Regions from separate parts of the Homo sapiens genome. Here regions 1, 3 and 4 are each linked to region 2. The links are contacts of gene promoters, found by promoter capture Hi-C in blood cells and fetal thymus (Javierre and others, 2016). All regions are on one chromosome and are shown on one strand. Each heading gives the region's core, a stretch centred on a gene start or on the middle of the fragment in contact. The rest is flanking DNA. Distances are from core to core; before and after follow the strand shown.

Evidence for each region. Contacts are between HindIII fragments. The CHiCAGO score rates a contact against its expected background, and 5 or more counts as called.
Region 1: a fragment that was not itself captured here is called in contact with the fragment with the promoter of NXPH2 in region 2 in 1 of 17 cell types (M2 macrophages); the score reaches 5.0 in M2 macrophages.
Region 3: a fragment that was not itself captured here is called in contact with the fragment with the promoter of NXPH2 in region 2 in 3 of 17 cell types (M2 macrophages, megakaryocytes and monocytes); the score reaches 5.9 in M2 macrophages.
Region 4: a fragment that was not itself captured here is called in contact with the fragment with the promoter of NXPH2 in region 2 in 1 of 17 cell types (total CD4 T cells); the score reaches 5.2 in total CD4 T cells.

Annotation. Positions count from the first base shown.
Region 1 is chr2:138,383,830-138,389,382 of GRCh38, forward strand. No RefSeq gene overlaps it. Among named protein-coding and RNA genes, the nearest start is that of SPOPL-DT, 120 kb to the right of the region's middle. The HindIII fragment of the contact is 729 bases long and covers 2,949-3,677 here.
Region 2 is chr2:138,778,379-138,784,229 of GRCh38, forward strand. NXPH2 (neurexophilin 2) reads right to left here and starts at 2,012. Exons shown (of 2, transcript NM_007226.3): 1 at 1,813-2,012. The coding sequence starts at 1,863. The HindIII fragment of the contact is 12,898 bases long and covers 1-5,851 here.
Region 3 is chr2:138,364,351-138,370,126 of GRCh38, forward strand. No RefSeq gene overlaps it. Among named protein-coding and RNA genes, the nearest start is that of SPOPL-DT, 130 kb to the right of the region's middle. RefSeq lists a silencer at 2,109-2,403. The HindIII fragment of the contact is 3,938 bases long and covers 1,245-5,182 here.
Region 4 is chr2:138,334,780-138,340,735 of GRCh38, forward strand. No RefSeq gene overlaps it. Among named protein-coding and RNA genes, the nearest start is that of SPOPL-DT, 160 kb to the right of the region's middle. The HindIII fragment of the contact is 700 bases long and covers 1,899-2,598 here.

The DNA of each region.
Region 1 (5,553 bases), core at 2,063-4,562, 390 kb before region 2:
TATACTATATACTATATATACACTATATATACTATATACTATATATACTATATACTATATATACACTATATATACTATATATACTATATACTACATATACACTGTATATACTATATATACACTATATATACTATATGTATATACACTATATATATACTATATACACACACACACACACACACACACACACACACACACACACACACACACAATGGAATACCATTCAGCCATAAGAAGGAATGAGATCATGTCATTTGCAGCCAGGTGGATAAACCTGGAGGAAATTATGCTAAGTGAAATAACCCAGGAAAAGAAAGACAAATACTGCGTGATCTCACTTATATGTGGCATCTTAGAAAGTCAAGCTCATAGAATAAAGAGTAAAATAGTGGTTACCAGGGGGTGAAGGTGGGGAGGTAGGGAGATGGGGAGATGTTAGCCAGAGGATCAAAATTTTATTAGATAGGAGGAATTAGTTCAGGAGATATATTATACAAACTGGCCTCTACAGTTAATAAGAATGTATTTTATGGCAAAGAGTAGATTTTTAAGTGTTCTCACCACAAAATATGTGAAGTAATGCATGCATTAATTAGCTTAATTTAACCATTCTACAATGTGTGTATGTATATATTTCAAAACAATATGTTGTACATATTAAATATATACAATATTTGTCAATTAAAAATTACATAAAGCAACAGATAAATCATCTTAAATAAAAATTTTAAAAAATAATAGCTGCATTATATGGAAACATTCCACAAATGAAAAGGAAAAACTGATCCACTAGAAAAGTGAGAAAAAGGAAATAATTTGGGGATTCACAGGAAATAAGCATCAATTACATTCATATTTTTTTAAAGGAGAAAAAGGCAATGCTGGTAGACTCCAGTTCACTCAAATCAGAAATATTTATCAAGCACCTAAGAACAAGTATATGTCAAATGGGCTAAATTTGGTCTGTTTCCCTAATCACAACTTTACCAACTTGTGAATCAAGTTCATTGTTACAGTCCCTCAACAATAAGAGTCAAGCTACCATAATTGTTTATTATTTTAAACTCATTTTTTCTCATACTGTTGTCAGTAAGATACCAGGTGAATTGAGCAGTGTCATTTTAACTAAACTAGTTCCACATATTTAGGAAATTAACCTAAAAATCAATTTTTAACCCAACACTAATTGAAACATTTAATAGATGCTGCTGCCTCTAAGAAAAAAATAATTCATAGTTAGGTAATAAAAGCATATTTAATGTGACTTTGACATGTGCTAAAAAAAGAAAAAATAGAGAAACTATTCACTCTCTAATGAAAATGGCTTCATAAAACTAAAAAGATTTGGTAATACTGAGCAACAGTCCATGAGAAACTGGTTATTAAGCAGTCAGTGCCTAGTTTGCTAGTTAATGAGGTGAGAAGAAACCAAGAGTGGTTAATAATCCCACAAACTGATCATAATCAAATCATTACAATGTTAATTATGGAAGTAAGAGGATTGTACCATGAAAATAAGAATAAATATAAAAATCACTGCTTTTGTCCTATATGTGTTATAATAAAGCATATTTTTCTAAGGCTAGATGGGGCTCAAAAAGATGACACTTTCTTCTGCAGAGTTGTATTTAAAAAAAAAATCAGGTTGAGTGAGTTTATTGATAGCACCTAAAATATTTCCTTATTTTCCCACCTAAGAAATACGTTTTTGAACAATTTTTGAGATATTTTGTTTCCTAGACATCATATATATTCACAGGGCAAGTCATTAGTAACACAAATTATCCTCCAATCGTGTTGGAAATTTAATTTTCTTTATTGGATTTGTAAGTTGGTTCTTATTCTCTGACTTATATTTTCAAGAGATAAATGAAATGTTTTCGTTCTATAATGTTGATAGAAATACTCTTGTTTGTTCATATGGCCCCTATGGATTTGTCTAATTACACATTTTAATAATAAACTAATCTCAGAACAATTGCCTCATCTGTCAATCTTCAGAGCATTTTTCTTTTGGTGAGCAGACTATGTTACTAAGACTTAACTAAATAAAGATAATATATTTCCACTATGCTCTGAGAAGATAAAAAGCTCCACAAATTTTTAAGTTCAAATTTACTTTTATCTGAACGTAAGTCAATTCATTCTTGTTAGAAAAATGTAAAAAGCCCCAAAAAGTATAGAGACCAAAAAGGATGATTATCATAGTCCCACAAATCAGAGGCAGCTACTATTAATCTATATTTCTTCTCATTCTTTGTATTCACTTCCTTTAAATGGTTAAAATTATAGAAATATTCTAATTTGTTTTCACTATTTTTATTTAAAATGATTTAAGAGTAAGCATTTTCCATACCATCTCTGGCTGCATGGTATTATATGAAAAGCATCAACTATAGTTTATTTCACTATTACATTATTAACAGACTTTAAAAGTATTTCTAAATTTTCACTTTTTTTTTTTCTTTTTTTTGAGACAGGGTTTCGCTCTTGTCACCCAGGTTGGAGTGCAATGGCGCCATCTCGGTGAACTGCAACTTCCACCTTCTGGGTTTAAGCGATTCTCCTGCCTCAGCCTCCTGAGTAGCTGAGATTACAGGCATGCACGACCACACCCAGCTAATTTTTGTATTTTAGTACAGATGGGGTTTCATCATGTTGGCCAGGCTGGTCTTGAACTCCTGATCTCGGGTGATTCACCTGCCTCGACCTCCCAATGTGCTGGGATTACAGGCGTGAACCACCGCACCTGGCCAATTTTCACTATTACATTATGAAAGATATCTTGGGTAAAATAAAATTGTAATAAAGAGCCCACGCAGAATCTGAAACAGACAGATTCAAATCCTCACTCAGCCATTTAGAAGTTTTGTTGAGAAGTGAAAGTAAGGTAAGTAAAATGTGCCATGTGCTAGACAAACAATGAATTAAGGCTATTGTTATAATGAAGCTTTTATAAATTTTATAATATTTTGCTATCATAGATGACCTGAGATTGGATTTCTAAGTTTATCAATATAAGCATTTTTAAGAGTTTTCCTACGTATTGCAAAATTGCCTTTCAAAATGCCATCTACTTTAAACTCTCACCAATATTACATGAGCTGTGCGTGAAGCCTGAGCCTTAGCAACATTGGGCTATTTTCATATTTTCTAATTCAATAGGTGAATATCTTATGTCACTTCGCCTTTTATCTTTTCAAGCTCTAAATAACATTGTATGCTTTTATAATAAATTATCTGTTCATGTCTTTTGCCCATTAACATTATGGAGTCATATCAATATATGTAACTGCTTTAAATGTTAAGATAATAATTTGGCATATATGTAGTTAATTAACTTTTAGTTTTTCTACCTTTAAGTTCTGTTCATAATACCCAAGATATTGAGAATTTTCATATTTTTCTATAGTTGAATCTATTATTATTTTCTTTTATGAATTCTTCCACCCTGATCCAGGAATTAGAAAATAATCACTTCTTATTTCCACCGGGTCTAATTAGGTTTGATATTCTACATTTACCTTTTTAATCCTAATATAATATTTTTTGGCTTATGCTGTTAAATAAAAATACAAATTGAATTTTTCCCCAAGTAGCTAAACAATTGCCCAAATAAGATTTACTGAATAATCTTTCTCTTTCTCATTGTTCCACATCTCCTTTATGATGCATAAAGCTTTAGCACATAATAAAGCTTAATTTTATAAGGCATCAAAATTTATCAAAGATATGATCCATTATACCTGATCAGCTTTTGGAAGCAGATCTCTGATTAAAGATCCTTGCTGCGACCCTCACCCAAATTATCTCACATACCTATTGGGTTCAAGTGGTTTTCAAGACAATAAAGGAAGATGTACAAAGAACACAGAATAACTTTAAAAGAATTCTACATTTTAATTTACGGTCTGATTTTTTTCTTTTACTTTGCCCACATCAAACTTGCATCATTAATGAAATGGAATGAGACAGAAATAGGTAACAGTTGCCTAGCATCTATAGTGTTCCAAGTCCCTTTAGCCCCTCAAACTTCATGATGTAAACATTCTTCTCCTAATTTTGCAATTATAGAAACCCATTTAGTAATCTTAACTAAACTGCCCAATACCACACAGTCAACAAGTAGCTAAAAATGGGATTTAAACCTGGATCACATTGACTAAAAAATTATGTTGGTTGAAAATGGCCTTTAGTTGGAAAGAAAAATACACACACAAACACACACTCAGACAGATACTCTTTTTTCCCATGGTGTATAATATTAATCTTCAGAAATCACTCCAAGGGGCTATTAAATATTTATCCAGTAGCATATACTGCAATTTAGAGTCTTTATACTTTTCAAGAGTAAGTATATATTTGAAGCTGGAAGGATAAAGAGGGAAAAAGCTCATGGTTGGGATGAGGGAATCTGCAACAGAGAGTGTGGAATGTCCCATGGAAGGTTACATGGAAGGTTAATCTGTTGGTTAAATCTCAACAGATGACCAGTGTCAATGAGGACTATGTTAAGACCAGATAGTATGAGTTATAACTTAAAGGATGCAAGAATAGTGTGAAACAGTGTACTAATGAGGAATATTCCCTCTTTACTAATGCTACCAGTGATCGTTGCTTAAGGCCTTCAGCAACACAACCCAAGACGAAGGAGTCCAACAATCCTGATTATGACAGTTTCCAACATGAAATGACTGACTAAATTAGACTGAATCTTTAAATTTTATTTTCTGAGTCATGAAGAATAGGGATAGAGGTTCAGAAATTTAAATAAGCTATAGAAAATCATGTCAAAAATTATAATAGACACACACAGAACTGAGCACCATGAAAACTAGATGAAAAGAGATGACTGTAAGGAAGGCATAGCCTGGCTACAGGTGTACTAGAAGTAAGAACAGGAAATCAGAAAATCAGTCTTCTCTCTGTATCTCACAGGGACTTCAGATCCTTTCTCTTGGCTTCTCCTTAGGTAGCTGCCTGCTGCTGTCTCTCCTGGCCTCATCCTAGAAAAGGATGAAGAGCTGCTCTGCTGCTGACTGCAAAGTTACAATGTCATTCAGAAGTCTCCAGCTCATAATACCAGTGGCCCCTGCCACTTCAAATCCCATTTCCTCATTCCCTGCTTGGCATTTCTGACTTACGCACTCCTACTGATTTCTTACTCATCTCATTCTTCCTCTCTGCCAGCACTTTTCCCTCTATTTTGTATGCTGATGGAAATGTCATTTATATTGTATTTGGTGGAGATGAAACTCATGAATTCGTTGTCAGAATGGGGTGTGTGTGCACACATGTAAATGTTATATATAAGACTGGACATATGGACTCTTGTTGTAATCCACATAATATAATGGATCCATCTTATTATATGAGGTGGGTGCAATTCTCAGCCCAAAACTTATGTTTTGCAAGAACCGTAACATATGTCTTTTTCTACGACTCAGCTTAATTTCTATTTCGAGTTCCCATGCTGCTGTAGTGGTAGAAACTCAATGTTAACCAGTTTGTTCCCACACCCCTCTCTTTCTCCAGGATTATGCCAAAGTTGTA
Region 2 (5,851 bases), core at 762-3,261:
TAGAATCTAGCTCTTAAGGAGAGCATATAATCCCTTCAAGATGTATTTCCTATTCCTTACTGACTATGGCGGTGTGGAAAAAAAAAATATCTAACATTTCCAATATAGTAGCTGGGAGAAGAACTTTTCCCCGACACGTGCCCAAATATATTTTCTCATCTTTAAGAGCCTATCACACTGCTTACGGAGCAGATACACAGTTCATATTTATTAAATGCAAAATTAATGAACTAAGATTCGTGAAGATATTCTGAAGACCCCACATAAACACCTGATTTCCCCAGGCTTTTCCTTACACACACCATACAAATGCTGCTTTGTTAGATCACCTTTTATTAGAATCCAGACTAAAAAATTTTAAAGCAAGGGATACTAAAGATTAATGTGGCATATATTTTGGATTCATAATGCCTAAGATGTAAAATGTATTTTAACATGGAGTATTGTAGATAGCCAGTATGTGATGGCTCATTCAAGGATATTTGGGCATATCATTGCATTTTCTTCTTGATGCCATTGAAGAGTTTCTGAGTTAACGCTGTGCAGGTGAAGCTAATCTCCACCGTAACAAGCATGGACCACGGGCATCTCAGAGGTCTCTCCACCTTTTAGAGTTCCTTCCACCCTCAGAACTTGCAAAGTGCCTCTGCCTTAACAATATCATACATATCATAAACTTTCAAAGTTACTTGATTTTCCCCCTAATAGGAAAAGAAAGAGACAAAGAGAACGAGAGAGAGAGCGAGCGAGAGAGAAGAGACTGTCATCTTCTAAGTGCTTGGGCAAAGTCTTAAGTATGAGGACCAAAGAAACTATGGCATCAGGAGAAAGCCCTCTTAATAGCACCCTAACAAGGCAAGAGCTAAGTGACCAGAAGAAATCCATCACAGATGCTGACCCAGCCAAAGCACTCCCCTTCTGTAATTTTACTTTAAAAGTTTCTTCTTGAAGATCTTACTTTGGTTTTCCCTCAACTATAATTAGCCATGCATATAGAACATAGGCGTATATCAGGAGGAGGAGAGCGTGGCGCCTCGCGGGAAGAGAGAAGAGAGTGACAACGCGAACCCCAAACCACATTTTAATACGTTTCTTATTCCTCAGCGCCTCCGAGCCACCCAGACCAGGCGGGCGGTCTCCCTGAAAAGACAGCTTCGAGATGCCCGAGAGGGGGCTCCTGCGCGGAGCTGGGCATGAAAGTTATATCTTGTGTCCCCAGCTGGCAGAAAGCCCCATCCCAGTCCCTAGCGCCAGACGGAAAACGAAGAGAAATCCAAGCTGTCCCCCAAATCCGTATTTTGCCTAAGTTTTCTCCCAGCAAGGCGCCACTACCTGGCTCTGAGAACGAGGATGCATGCACTATGCTGTGCTTTGGGAGAAGTGTCTGTGTGCATCTGGGCAAAACACCACGTGAAAAATAAACACCACCAAGCCTCTCAAACTGTGAACAGGAGGAAGGTCTTTCTGCCCCTTCTCATCCTATCAATTTACTTTCCTTCCTCTCCTTGACCGCTTATCAATAAACCGCTTCCTTCTCCCGGACCTACTTCCCGGCCACCTTCTGCCTACTTTACCCCAGCGCTCAAGTCCCAACCCGTGCTAAGCCCCTGAGTCGCCTGTAGATCCCGTCTATTCCGTTCTTCAATTCTTCCCTTTCGACCTCTAAGGCAACCCAAAACTCCTTGCCCTCCGCGCGCCCCCAACCCCACTTCCCAAGCAGGCCCAGGCTGGGCTCCAAGTCAGCCGCCTGCGCGGTTTTCCCGCCGAAACGCGTCCCCGGCGTGTGGGACGGCGCGCGGGCCGGGCACTCACCAGCTGCAGCAAGCCAGGGACCACCACGAGGGGCAGCGGCCGCAGGCGCATGGTGCCGGCTGGCGCGGCTTTTCACGAGCTGCGCGCCCTCGCCTGCCTCTCGCGCATCTCCACTTCGCGGGGCAGGACTGAGGACGCCAGGGACACAGCGCGGCGCTTCCCTCCCGGAATCCGAGCGCTGCGCCGTGCCGCGCAGCTCTGGCCGGGTGGGCGGGCAGGGAAGGGGGAGGGTGGGCGGACCGGAGGTGCCTCTCCCGGCCCCCCGCGCGCCCCTCCTCGGAGGGGGCCGGCAAAGAGCCTGCGGGGCAGCTCGAGCTCCGGCACGCGGCGGGGGGCTTCAGTCGCGCCTTGGACTCTCCCGCTTGGCCGGGCTTGGGGTGAGCGCGTGGGGCGCCTGCGGGAGGGAGGCGGCGGCTCGGGCGCTTGGGTGATGGGTTCAGTGCGAGGCTGCCCTCCAGATCCGATCCCGCCGGGCGGATGCCTGGCCGAGCTGAGCACGCCTGGCCAGCCGGTGCCCCAGAGCCCCGAGAGGCCGGGTGCCTCCTCCCACCCCCGCCCAGCAGAAGGCCGGTCCGAGAGGCTCCACTGTGCCAAGCGCCCTGCCAACTGACTGGCTCTCGCTTTGGCTGGGGAGATTGGGGATGAGGGGAAGAAAAGGTTCTCCCTGGGTGGCTGCAAGAAAGAGTGCGCCCGCCTGGAGAGCGCCCAGAGAGTTTAGGAGGGGAAGGCGATTGCAGAGTCCTGGGGCGGGGCGTGGGGAGCTGCGAACGGAAAAGGCTGGGGCGGGGAGGTGAGGCTGGAGCCCAGGACGCCCTGGGAGAGTGCCCTACTCTGCCGCAGCGCCAAGCTCGCAGAGCCGCGGGTAAGGGGTACAAAGTGCGCCTGGTGCGGCTGGAAGGATTTCTGGGGTTGGGGAGTAATGGGGACCTCGAGGGACCAGGAGCAGAACTGTGAGAAACGGAGCTAGGTGATGTCTGGTTTACTCCGGTTTGGGGATGGTATAGACAGCTAGGTGTCCTGAAGACAGACAAAGTTGCTCCCAGACCTTCTGCCCGGGCTTTGGAGAAGCAGAATAAAGGCAGGATACCCCACCACAGCCTCCGACTTCAGAAATATTGGAGAGGGGTATCTTTGCGGACGGGCGAAGGTGCAAACCTGATGCCTGTGAGCCTCGACCTCCGTGTTAACAACTCGCCATTGGAGAGATCCTTAACCTTTTACTATCTTTGTGCTGGACACTCGAGTGGAAAAATCAAAGGCAATGGGGCTCACAGACCTGCACTGTTTTTACGGTAGATCAGAGTTTGGGCGTCATTCGTCACTCCTTTATTGAACAGGTGGGAAACCTAAGGTCCAGAGAGATACATTCACTTCTCCAAGGATGAGACTTTAGGCAGTTGCTCCGACAGAATACCCAAGGCGAGAATGCTTCTTACATCTAGAAACGCAAAGCTCTTAGAGAAGAAAACCATGTTGAAGCAAGGGAGTAGAATTGCAATTGATTTCTAGGCTTTAAAAAATAAACCCAACAAAAAGCACAGATTAAGTTGTAATTTTTGGACAAAAAAAAAAAAGTTTCCTTCTCCTCTGCTTACCACCCCCACCCCAAAATAGAAATGAAGGAGGGTTGTTAAATCTTAGCGGTTGAAGCAGAGCAGCCTTGGTCCTAGGTTTCAAAGGCAGGAGGATTGCTTTGACTAGGGCAAAATCCTACTATTCCTTTCACTGAGTGTGCCAAGATTGTGCAGATGGGGAGGGAGGTTATTCCAGAGTGTTCTGGGATCCCAGTGTGAATTTGAGAGTGTGTTGTCCTTGAGCCTGCAGGTAGGGTATCTTTCCAGTACAACTCCATTTCCTGTAGGGGGGGAGAGTGGCAAGCAAGGGGCATGCATCCTCCCTAAACCCTTGCTAAGCCTGACTGGGGGTTCCATGGTAAAGGATGCACCAGCTGCATCCCATTTCTGCTTGATCTCAGACTCTCCTTTTGCCTTGCAACAGACTCAAAAACAAAACCACTATTTGCATATCCAAATCTATATCTCACCCATTCCACTCCTCATCCCTACAAAAATTCCCTCTTTACCAAGGCTTAGAGCCCTGTTCTACCAGTTCTAGTAAATTATTCTGTCCCAAAAGCACAAATAAGAGGATTTCAAAAACTGGAAGGATCTCTATTGGTTGATTTTGCCCAACTTTGCGTCCCTGGATAGGGCTGCATCTTATTTACAGACAACCTTTTCGAAACAAAACGGACATAATAGGAAGGGTTTTGCAGAAACAGAGGAACCCCTTTCTGAAGAGGTACAGCTCGAAGAGGAGAGAGGCTAACCGCTTTGCAAGAGGCACTACCTCATTTAGACTTGGTGTCTCTGCCTGAGCTGAGCTGACTCATTTATAGAGCCAGAAGGTGAGGTCCTGTCTCCATTTGGTACTTTGGTAGTTTGCCATTCAGCTATCACAGGCTTTGTAAATGAGGAGGGCATGATTTAACACATTATTGAAATAAATAACAAAGTTGTTTAATTACTGGAATAGTTCACTTTTTTCCTTCAATTTGTTCATATTTCTTAGATCATTTTTGTTCTTTTGAGAAACTACATAAAGTTTAAAAGTGGAAGTTAAACTCAGACATGTGCCCTAGTAACACTAAGTATTCTTACAAAGAAACATGCTGAGGGATGTTGAATTCCAAGTTAAAAGCTAAAAAACAGTAGCGAACTTTCGTGCCCCAGTGATCAGGCCAGGTAAAAGAGAAGCCTAACAGCCCCACTAACCTAAGTCTGGCATTACTGTGTTTATTTATAAAATAACTACTGATCTTTCTGGATTCCTCCCAAATTTTGCTGTACAGACTACAGTAAAGAGAAAGAAAGAATGGAAAGAAGAAAGGGAGAGAGGGAGAAGAAAAGGATGAAGAGAGGCAGAAAAATAGAAGTATTTAAGACATTGTCCTCCAGCAGCATGCAGTCTGAGAAATATGCAGTAAACAAAACACAGTAGACAATACAGCAAAATATAAGTGTTGTTTAGTACAGCTGGAGAAAGGAAAGATCATTGTAGGCCAGCACGAATGCTTCTTGGAAGAGACGAAACGTGAGTTTGCTCAGTTTCCAAGAATGGCCAAGATTAGTCTACATGGGAAAAAATGGAGGAGATCATTCTGTATGGGAGAAACAGAATGAGCAAAGGCAGAGTGGAGGGTTTTTATAGGGCATAATTGAGGGATGAACAAAAAGCAGCCCAGACTGTGACTGGAGAAAATATGTTGAGGAAAAGTGAGAAGAAAGTTAGGTTATGGGCTGCGCTGTAGAGATCTGGGAATGCCAAGCTAAACAGTTTAGACGTAATCTGGAGGAAATCATGGAGTCATAAACCTTTTTTGGAGTAGACAAGTCATGCATGAAGAGGCATGAAGATATAGAGGTGGAATGAGGAGATGGTCATGGTAGTTGGAAAGAAAGGAATAGAGGAATAGGGAGATGTGGGTACAAGGGCAACAGTGAAGAGTGAACTGTGAACAGGAACTGAACTTGGGGTTTGAATATTTTTAAACTTTTCTAGCATAGTAGAGGAGCGTTTTTTTTTTTTTAATCACCGCTTTTTCTCTTTTCCAGTCTATTTAACAACTAGAGAATCAGATCAGTGCTTTCTCATTTTGAAAGGTAGTCTTCACAGTGTGAGGGGAAAAAGAGTGGTTTTTTTTTTCTCATACAAACCCGTAGTAGAAAGTGGGACCTACCAAATTTTACTGCTACGTGATCCAGTTGTAGTCTTTTAAAAGCAAAGAACATATCTAGGGTTATGTTCAATGCTTTGAGATCAAATTTGTCAACTTATGGCTCATCCAGACCATTAGTTTTTTCCAGTGCTTTCCCTGTACTTAACTTTCTCATCCCGTACTGTTCATTAGTATCATTACCAGAAAGTGGAGAAGGAAATAGTATGCATTTCAGAGTTTCAAGTGAATATTAGATAGTGTTCAACTTACTCACTTTACAGTTAAGAAAACAGGCCTGAAAAGTTCTGTGACTTGCATCAA
Region 3 (5,776 bases), core at 1,964-4,463, 410 kb before region 2:
CACCTATAATCCCAGCAGTTTGGGAGTCTGAGGCCAGAGGATTGCTTTAGCCCAAGAGTTTGAGACCAGCCTGGGCAACATAGAAAGACCCCCTCTCCACAAAAAATACAAAAATTAGCTGCCTGCAGTAGCAAGTGCTTGTGGTCCCAGCTACTTTGGAGTCTGAGGCAAGAGGACCGCGTTGCAGTGAGCCATGACTGTACCACCGCACTACAGCCTAGGAGACAGAGTGAGACCCTGTCTCTAAAAAAAAAAAAAAAATTAATAAGTGAACATACCACATTAACATTCTGTGACACACACACATTATACTTCATTGCTGTATCATGACTGTTAGCTTGATTACTAGAGCAATTGTCTCATGAGTCAGTTATTATGATATCTACTAGCCAAGGTATTTCTACATAGTTTAATAGTTTTCAAGGCCAAAAAAATTTGAGTGTAGCAATAAAAATTATATTACAAAAGCAAAATAAAATAATTTGGCTGAAGAATAAACCCAGAATTATTTTGGCACTAAAATGTTTATAATTCCTTTCTCTTAAGAGAGGTTTTTCACTCACAAAACCTCAAATAACATGTGTTGTTATCTTTGTGCTTTTGAAATAATAAAAGTGGTAAAGGTCAGGTACACATAGTCTTTGCTTGCCTTTCACAAACAGTTATTTTAAAATGTATGTGTGTGAAGGGGAGTGGTGTTATGTGCTTAATTTATTTTCTGTAGTTACCTTGATTAATAAAAGTCAAATATATTCAAATAAGTCTTTCATACTTCAATATTAATTTGTTTTAAAAAATAATAATTAACTTTTTAATAGAGCTGCTTGAACACAATCTAAGAGACACTTTGGAAAACTATCTCAAAAGTCTGTTTTTCTAACCAGGGAACTAATCCTGAAAAAAATTCACAGCCCAATCAGCATCACTCGTGACTTTATAAAATCTTCTATGTTTTCAGGAATGCAACAGCTTGAGTTAGATGAAAATTAAAATTCTGAGGTTAAATTCAGTGTATTTGAACACTGTGTAAATTCAGTGAGCTCAGGCACACACTTGTTTACTTGAGAACTTTTCAATAAAGTCCTTACAATATGCTTATGGCTCCAAATAAGCTGTGAAAATCACAAATTCTAAAACTATGAACATCTTTTTGTGAAGTGGTACACTGAAATTAACACTACACTTTTTGAATAAAAGGCCAAGGTAGAGATGTCTCCAATTTTTGGCTAAGGAAATGCAGCTGAAGCTTTGTCTATCGTGTTGTTGGGTAGCAATTTCTTAAGGTAGCAAAAGAGTAACTTCCAGTCAAAGACAGAAAAAGTCATTCTATGTTGAGCATGCTGGGAAAAGTCTTCAACTTCATTCTTCCCTTTGACTTAAGAAACACTTGGCATGTTTCCTAATATTGCCTATTAGACTTTCCCCTGCTCTCCCCGAGAACACAAACTACATATTATTTTCAAATAAAGTATATCCCACTTGAGCTGTTTCCAACCCCCATTAATCCCTTAGAGAGCAGATATGAAAGTGAAAGACCTTTGTTATTTAATGATGATCATAATAATGACTAGCATGCATTACACGCTTACTATATGTCAAGCACAGCAGTAGCTCTTTGCCTATATTATTTCATTTAATCCTCACACAATGTAAGAAGTTGATTCCATATTTCATCATCTCTAGGAGGTCATCAGTGCATTATAATTTTTTTAAATACACAAATGAAAAAAGGGGGAAAATGCCATAAACTATTATGTAATCTTTTCTTGTCACTTCAAAGTTTTCTTCTACACGTGTTGAAAGAGTTCTTGTATCAAAGCAGTCTCTCCTTGCTTTGCAATTTTTCTCATCTATCTCAAGGGAGTTGCAATTTCTCCTGCCTTTGGTTCTATGGCTTGTTGTGATAAGCAATCCTTCTGCTGCGCCTCAGTAAAAAACATGTAACCCAATTTCAGCTACTTGTGGGTATGTTTCTTTCTTGGATGTCATAAAACACTTGTTTTTTTCTTTGCAAGACAATCTGGCATAATGATCATTTTTCTAATGATGAATATTTGCTTCGCGAATATCAAATCTAAACACCACTCCTCTGTTTTTGCATATACATTAACTTTTTGTCTTAAACCCAAGTATATTGTTGAATTTATCTGAAGCCAATTTAAATGGCAAACTAATTCAGCATGTGCAGTAATGCAAATGCTCATAACTCAGGTGAGATAACCCTGACCAGTGATGACCAAGTGCATGTGTGTGATCAGGCAAAGCCAACTACATTTCCACTATCACATGTGCAACAGTGACCATAAATCACCACTGACTGTATGAGATATGAAAATGTAAAATATTGTGTTCCTTGGAATCTGTGCAATCCGGTGTATTCAAAACATTATACAATTGTTAAGAAGCTGAGTCAGAAATGTTGTACAAGAAATCTGACACTCGATTGCACTCTCTAAATTGCTACATTTACACTAGTTTTAGGAAAATAAAGAAAATAGATCCATTCCCTTACCTTTAACAGTCCCTTATCTATAACTTTGCTATAAAGTTGGAACTCAATATAACTTCCACTTCAGGTCTGTGGATTTAACTTCAAACCTTTGCTGCTGCTGCTGCTTCTTGTGCTTTTATTAAATAATGACACCAGTCTTGGTACTCTGCATAAAGGGGTAATGGTTTCAGGCTGGAGAGTTTATGATCTAAATTAGACAGGATAAAACCAGGAAAAGAGATGACAAGAGATTGTGAGGAGCTGGTATTGGTTTCAATTTGTTTCATTTTCACAGTGTCAATTTTCTTAATGCTTCCTCAATTCACACTTCCCATCTCTTTTTCTCCCAATAATTTCTGAGATGCGTCAAGAAGTTAGTATGTTCCCTTTGTTACAAGTGAAGAAATCTGAGAAGTCTACCCATATTCACACAGCTAGTAAGAGGAAGAGATATATAGTTCTAGCCCTCAGATTATCCATGTATTCAGGACCATGTTCAAGAAAATTATAATCTTGTTATATTTAATAAATGGATGAATACAATGTATCTGATCACACAAAAAGTCTCCTGCGAGATAAGAATTTGACCACACACCAGATCCCAAACATTTACCTTGAATTTAGTGAAAATACAGCAAGATGGGATGGTTTGGAGCATGTGCTCTGGAGTCAGCCTGTCTTGGTCCATATGCTGGCTCTGCCACTAACCAGCTTCACAAGTTTGGTCAAGTTATTTAACATCTCTACACCTCTGTTTTATTATCTATAAACTGGAGATAATAATAGCAACACATAAGAGAAAATAAAAGGCTAAAATTATATCAATAAGATTGTGTATAGAGTTGAAAGAACGGTCTTTAAAATAGACAAATTCTGAGAAATATGTTATTAAGAAAAAAGAGGAAAATACAAAATAGAAACTTAGAAATGATGAGTAAAGAAATTTTGAGGAAAAGAGAAGGTGCTCTTTATTGTGATTTTAAACTTGAATTGACTACCAGTTCACCTTCACTTTTTATATAAGTTATTATTCACTTAAATATATCTCTAATCTTTCTAGTGGGCCCTCAAAGGGTTATCACTTCCCAGACACCTTCTTTTGCTCTCTGAGTAATTCTTCTGTTTAAATTTCCAGAAACATATTCACATATCATTTCCATAGTCCCAGTACTATTTGTTTATGTGCCTCAGCAAGTACATCTGATAAATGCACGTTTTCTTTCCTGAACCCGGCTGACTTCTTGGTATTTGTGAAAACACTCGAGAGACATACTGAGCAAATGAATGCCCTTTGAATTTCTAGTCTTTTAGTAATGGAGATAGTTACCACCCCTTTTCAGGACTTTTAAAAAGCATGCCCACATGAAAGTAGCTTATGGAAAAGTAATATCTCATTTGTGATGGTGTTAGAGTGCTCCAAAAGGGTAATGGTGAAGAATAATTGCACAGCCGAGGTGAAGTATGCTAATTCAGCAAGAAGTTTGTTTTTCCAATAGGAAAATCTAGGCTTATTACATATCACAATGTCATATAAGTACAGCTACTGCACAATACACTCTTCACAGTAATGCAAGGTGGAAGGGTAGTGAATAATCTCAAGCATTAGGAAATAATAATGCTTTCATTTGTGGCGGACCATGATAGCGCTAGCTTGTCGTTCATATTTCCTTTCTTTGAATAATAGAACCTCTTTTCTACTCCCCATGATTCAAGGGGCTTTCAGTCAAGTATCCCCTCCCACCAGCCACCATATACACAATCACAGGAGCAGCAAGAACATGACCCAAGATCAGAGGGCCCCTTCCTGCAGTCTGCAGTGGTTCAGGAATAGGCACAGGACCCAGGTCAGGCCAATCGGAGTCCTTGGGAAATTTCGACTCGAGCTAAAAGAAAGATTCTATTTTCTTTATGTTATGGTGTTAGAAGGATACAAGCTGAAGCTCTTTGTGGCCATATTAAGGTTTTGAGAGGAAAGCTATCTGGTGTAGAAGAGACTAAGGTACAAAGAGAAGCAAAGTCAAGCAAGCCTCAGAACATGTGACATTTCCAAAGACACCATTAACCTTCTCTACCTTGCACCCTTGGCATGCTTTTTCCCCTTGAATACCATATGAACAATACTCCCTGGAGTAGTCTTAGAAAAGAGGAAAAAAGCATCCAGGTCATTTTGAATACCTAGTTCCAGCCTTTTATAAGCACGTTTCTACAGCTTGTCCTTCAATCCTATAAAATACCCAGTATCCTGTCCAGTTTTATCAGCCAATTAATTCCACTTGCCTTTTTAGATATTTGAGTTGAACTTCCTTCACTTGCAGCTGAAAGGGCACTGAATAGTGCAAACTTTCTATAACTTTACAAAGTGCTCTCATACACACACAGAGTTATGGTGTCTGTTTTATGGATGAGAAAACAAAGAGGTTAAGAATTTGTCTGTCACTATAGTGGAGCAGAATTTTTTAATAGAAATTTTTTAAATAGAAAGAAAAAGCAGGAAAAAGGTGAGAATTATATCTGGGATTTTTTTCCATGTTAGGTTCAGTGAGTTTTCCTCCAGGGTATATACTATGCCACATCTTTTTGTCTCCAAATTCAGGTCGGATTTAGGAGAACATTCCTTGATCCTCACTAACTCACTGCTGATTCCAGCTAAGTGCTCTTCATTCCTCCTGCCTACGCTCTAGCCTGGAGAGAAGCTTACTATTGAACTGCAATTGTATTTACCAATGCTTTTTAATAGTTAATATTTATTAAACACTTACTATTTCCCAGGCACTGCTCTAAGCACTGAATCTGTATTAACTCATTTAATCCTCAATAAGTATTTGTAAGATAGGCATGACAATTATTTCTACTTAATGCATCAGGAAAAAGAGGCACAGAGGATTTTGTAACTTGCCTAGGTCACAATGCTAGATAAGTGGAATGTGGATTGGAATGGAGGAAATCACACTTCAGAGTCTGTGCCTTTGTCCATATGGTCATCACAGTTTGTTCAGATGGTCTGCCTTAGACTCTTGAATGTATTTTATATCACCTGCATACCTGGGTACCCTTTTTAATTCCCATTCTTATATTTTGGGTATTTCCTATCATATCATTTTTGTAGCCTGAGTGCATACAGGAGCTGATTGCTCCTCCTTTTTTTTCTTCCTTGGCTCAGTCTTCTTCTTTATATGACTAAAAGTAAACTAATGCTCATTGCATATGCCCAGATATTTGCAGCACTTGGTTCCACAAGCTGACAATAGGAGAAGAGTGGGCCAAATCTGAGCTGACTATGTACTG
Region 4 (5,956 bases), core at 999-3,498, 440 kb before region 2:
CCTTGGTGTTTTTGTTAGGAGAGCCATTAAATACACTATCTTAAGGAAGTCATGGTAGGCTTTCTCCAATTTGTGCTTGAATAAATATTAGCTGATCGAGAAAATCTACTTATGCTTTTCAATTTTCTTTACTTTAGGCATAAGGTAAATGCTGTAATGGTATATCATTCAGTTTGAAACAGAAAAATAAAAATTATACTAAGTGTTTAAACCAGAGGAAACAATACAGGGAATCAATCCCCCACGTGATGAAAGAGCTAAAAGATGACCAGGGGATGGTGAGGCAACCTACAAATGAGCAGCAGCAGGCAGCCTGGAGGAGGCTGTTCACTAGAGCCCAAAGGCCAGGGTTGTCTGACAGAATTTGAAATACAGCAGATCCATCAATGAAATCCAGAGCCATGGAGAGACTCAGACACTGAGAGGGATGCTGCCTGAGTCACACAGATGGGGGAAAGACCCTGGCTCTTCCCCTTCACTCTCCCTCTGACCTTCTGTCTGTGACTCCCTTTGGCTAAACCCATGTAATCAGCTGATACAGGGAGGGCCCAAAAACACAGCCTGCAAGGATTGCTCTCCCTGCAAGCCCTCATCTAGTGATACTAAGTAAAGCAAGAAGGGATCTGAAAGCAAACAAGCTAAAACTCTGCACAAGCAGTGTTTGTAAATTAGCAAATATCCCATCTTGAAAGTGTTAAATGTTTATTCCAGTGCTTTCTAACCAGAAGAATGGAGGATACAAGAAGTATTTGCTCACCATGTCCATTCTGTTCCTCATTTCTTCCTCCCAAACCATAAGGAATAAAGAAAATGGGTGTTTTTTTTTTTTAAAGATCTCCAAATAATTCAGATTACACTTTTATTGTTCCTCATTCCTTCATCTTTCTTACCTGGAAACAAGGCTCTACCTCAAGTCAAAATTCAAAATGGTATGCTTAAATGGTAATATTCTTAATGATTTTCCCTTCTTTCCTACTTTAAAATTGGGAGGAACAAAACACTCTAACAAATGAACAAACCACAAAAAAATGTTTTCTATTCTAGGAATTCCAAGACCACTAAACCAACATTAATTCTTAATTATAGGTTCAAATATGAGAATTTATAAAACTAAAAGGAGACAAAATTTAAAGAAAACACAGTGGCTTTATGTGATACATCAAAACCTTTTTAAGTATGACTTTTAGTATGAGTTAAATGGATTTCTGTTTTAGAAAGTAAAAATGACACTCTGCCTGACCTCTCAGTCCATAATAGCATTCCTTGGCACCATCTATAATGATTTTGTCCCAACTCTACCTATAATACTATAAAGTGGAGGCAGCAGAACCTAGGTCTGAAACTAGGGAATAATTAGTTCTATCCATGAGTGGAGATTTTATGAGTTCAGTAAATGAGGAGTGTCTGGTTGAGTACTTAGGAGGAAAGGGGGAATTTGATGTAGTGAAGTCATAATATACTACATATCCGGAACCTTCTCAGGAATCTAAAGGTCATCTGCCTTTCAGTCCCCAAGAAATACAACCCTGCAGAAACCTCCCTGGCCATTTACAACCTGCCTGGCTCAGCTTTCCCTCAGGGCCTGAAGGATTGCCCCATCTGCCAACTCAGGCAGCCAGACTATCCTGAGGCCTTTTCTAAATCCTTGATATACGATCTCACCTGTCCTGCATGGAATATGAGGCTAAAATATTATCAGAGAATGTGCCCAGGCTGCAGCAGTCAGATTTAACCCCTGTTCTGGGAGGTGATATTTGGGAAGGTAATTAAGGACTGAATAATAGGCTTCCTCATATGACCATGAGAGTCACCTCTGAGAATTTAGAAACCTAAAGTCCAGTGTGATGAGACGCAATCAGGGACAGGAGAGAGTTTCAGACATTAAGGGGCTCTGACAAAGCTTTTCCAACAACCCCTTCCCTATCACCCAGAAAGAATTCATTGGGATGCCCAAATCTGATGTCAGCTATTCCCTGGGGACATCGGAATGCTCTCAAGATGCAATGAGGATGCATAGTGAGCAGCTAAAACACCCCTGAAGATCCTTATTTCTTTCTTATATTGGTGTTATCAATCTATTTATTCATTTATTCTCTTGGCACTGTCTTCCTTTTCTCTCCATCCTTCTCTTTCTATACAAATAGATTTGAACCACAAATGAACAAAATTGAAAAGTATTTTCCAGGTTAACAAAGTTCTCTCCCCGTAGAATTTTATACTTTGATGTGCTGCCCTCTGTCTGATGTTTAGTGTTTTCCATAATGATGAAGTCATCTTTCCAACTGCAAAGTCATTTGATAACCCAGCCAATTACCTTAAATTTTTAATTTTTAATTTTTTAATTTTTAAAGTTGTTTATTAGCCAATAATTGACTGATTAATAATTTCCACCTTGTTCTACAATTGATTTAATGTGCTTTATAAGGACATGTATATTTTAAGATATAAATTAAATATATGTAAGAAAAAAGAAAGCAAAACAAGAATAAGATATAAAATTGAGCAAGAATTGAAGTGAATACACACACACACACACATAAATAAACATTGAGATCAAAATAATCACATTCCAGTAGGTAGCTTAGAAGTTTATATGTAAGCTTTAGAAAACATAAAATTGCAAACATGGTCAGTTGAACCATTAAAAAATGTATATGGTCCATTAGACAAATGCAACCCATCCTGACATAAAACCTGAAATAAAATCCCCTCATGTAATGTAATTAAAAATTTATCAATAACTAGCTTACAGAAAACACAATTGCAATATTTTAGGGACATTTTCTATAATATTCCTAGATATAAACCAATGTCATCGTGACGAAGTCCAATTCCACCAGAGAGATACAGCAGGTTCACAGTTACAGGAATTAGCTCTGTGCTGGAATAAATTATTAAAGTAACAGATTTCAGAGCACGTGGAGGTAAAAATGTACTGCTTAAGTATAGTTAAGCAAATAACAAATCTTTATTACAGAGTGCTTCTCTCAGCTAAGCTTTGACAGCTGTAAGGAGTAAATGGTTTACTATACGGTCTCTCAACTACTACTCTTGTGTTTTTAGTTAAAAACCAGCCTTCATGCCTTGATATTAAAGCTAGGGTTTTATAAGACAGCACTCTATCATAAAATTTTCACCTTACACAAATATGTATTCTGCCTCAGCTCAGAGATGAACCAAGAATAGGATGAAAGTTTTCCTTACACACTTATTTGGATCAACTTCAAGATTCAGATGAAATGATTGGCAAAATCCCAGGGTTCTACTGTCTGTAATTTTGCTCCAATAAGTTTGGCCTAGAAAAATGTCAACAAGGTTATAAGTAGATTCATGTATTCATTCAATGTCTGTTGAGCTCCTGCTACGTTTCAGGCCCTCTCCTAGATGTTAGAGAAAGAGCAGTAAGCTAGCAGTAAACAGACAAAAATTCAATCCTCCATGATCTTACCTTCCAGTGGATATCTGAGTTGGTTATTAAAAAATTCAATAAAACATTTTTTCAATACCTGGATTTGAGAAAGCCCATTTCTAAGTGTACTTTCCCAAAAATGATGTTTGAAAACCTAAAACTATTAATATATCTCATTTCTCAATGTATACCTCTTCTTAAATTCAATGTCTTTTTTTGCAATCACTTTGTAGGCCATTTTAAAAATCATCTTTATGTTATCTCACAGCTTTTATCATCAATTTTATAGACACTTCCAACATAAATACTTATTACAAATATAGAAAATGATTTTGTAACATTACATAAATGATGACATTATATATATTCCTGAGGGGGGAATATTTCACTATTTTCTTGACTATTGAAAATTTTAAGGAATTCTTGTTAGTTTTTCACAACCCATTCTCAGTCTAGTAAAAGGTAGTTATCAAATCTGATAATCTGGAAAAGGATATTTTATATTCTATTCTCCGTGTTTAGTCTTTGTAAATTAACGTTAATTTCTATGTTCTGTATTTCTGGTGTATATTAAGTGCTTATTAATCAAATACTAGTTTCTGTTTAGTGAGGAATTGACACTAATATGTCAAAAATGTGAAAAAGTAGATCACAATTTTATTACACTCAGATTTTTCGAAATATTTCTAATTTAAAGAATTATATTGTGTTATACAATGCAATAATATAGGGACAGTCCAGATTTATGAGTTAAATCACACTATTCCTTCATAGAGAGTTATAAATATTCCAGTTTGCCTACTATTTGGGTCAGGACTATGTCATAATCAATTATGTGACTCAAACATGTGGGAAATTATATATTTTTAATGAAATATTTCATATAAGTAGTCATGATTCGAAATACATTATTTTAATGAAATGTTCTTTAAGAAAAAGAGGGTTTTTTTTAGTCATGAATGTGAATAAAAATAGAAAGACATACTCACGGGATGCAAAACAATCCCCCAATCCACAAAATTCTGTAAATTTGATTATTTTTTATTTCCTATAATTATTTGCAATAGTAAATTTTTAGATATGTTTATTTCTAAACATGTAAATAGTTTAAAATAAGGTAAAATTTAGGAGATATTGAATGGATTTTAAAATGCTCAAGGGGGGTTTATTTTAGGCACAATGGTAATTAGGTGAATTTATAAGTAAGAAGTAAGAGAACTGGCCCTGTTCTAAGGCAGAATTTTTCCAAAAGCAAAAAATACAGAACAGACAAAAAGGAAGAATGATTCAATACAGCAATTAATAAATTGAACACATGTTATACATTTTAAAACAAGAAGTTCTTTAGCAAGTGAAATTAGAAGAAAAATATCAATAGCTAATATGTACCAATGTACTGAACTCCTGGTCTCTGCTCTAGTCATTTTATATGTAATCATTTACTCTTCCTAACAACCCTTCTGGGTCAGTACTTTTCTATCCCCATTTTGCAGGCAAGTAAACCGAGTCACAAAAACTCAGAAAAACTTGCTCAAGGTCACTCAACTAGTAAGTTGTGAAACTGGGGCTTTAACTCAGGTATTCTGGCTTCAGAACCCCTATGATATCCCTAATATTATAACAAGCATAAAAATAATATTTAAAATGAAAAACTGTGGGACCGGGCATGATGGCTTACACCTGTAATCCCAGCACTCTGGAAGGCCAAGGCAGGTGGATCGCTTGGTCAGAAGTTAGAGACCAGCCTGTGGAACATGGCCAAACCCCGTCTTTACAAAAAAAAAAAAAAAAAAAAAAAAGCTGAGCGTGGTGGTGCGTGCCTGTAGTCCCAGCTGTTCGGGACGCTGAGGCAGAAGGATTGATTGAGCCTGGGAGGTCGAGGCTGCAGTGAGTTCTGGTTGCACCACTGCACTCCAGGCTGGGCAACAGAGTGAGACCCTGCCCCCCACCCCTTAAAAAATAAAATAAAATGAAATGAAAAACTACAGATACATTAAGTAAATTAGTTAAGAGACAATAATATCTATTATATCATTTATCATTTGCAAATGAGAAAAGGAAGGAAGGAAGGATCAAGAGAAAAAAGGAAGGAAGGTAAGAAAAATATTTGAAATAGAGGAAAAATTATATGCTTGTCTACTTAGGAAAACATTTGGTGTGCAGGTAACCTCAGTAACTGACAATCATTTTAAAGTGTCTAATTATACCAGGGTGCATATGTATGTGTGCCTACAGATAGGCAAGAATATATCTTGTAGATGTAATATATTACATAAGCATTTATATATATTCTATATATAATACATTATACACACATATGTGTATATCATATGTGATACATGTAATTATATGTGTATATTCATATTATTTATGCATATATCCACACTCGTGTAATAAATGCTCAATAAATATTTGTTGAACAAACAAATGAATGCATATATACATATATACTTTTTGGAAGCTACACATGCACTATTCAAAATGGTTATCTTCAATAAGGCGAGCAGGGTTAGGAGGATGAGGGCTTTTACTTTTCACTTCATACCT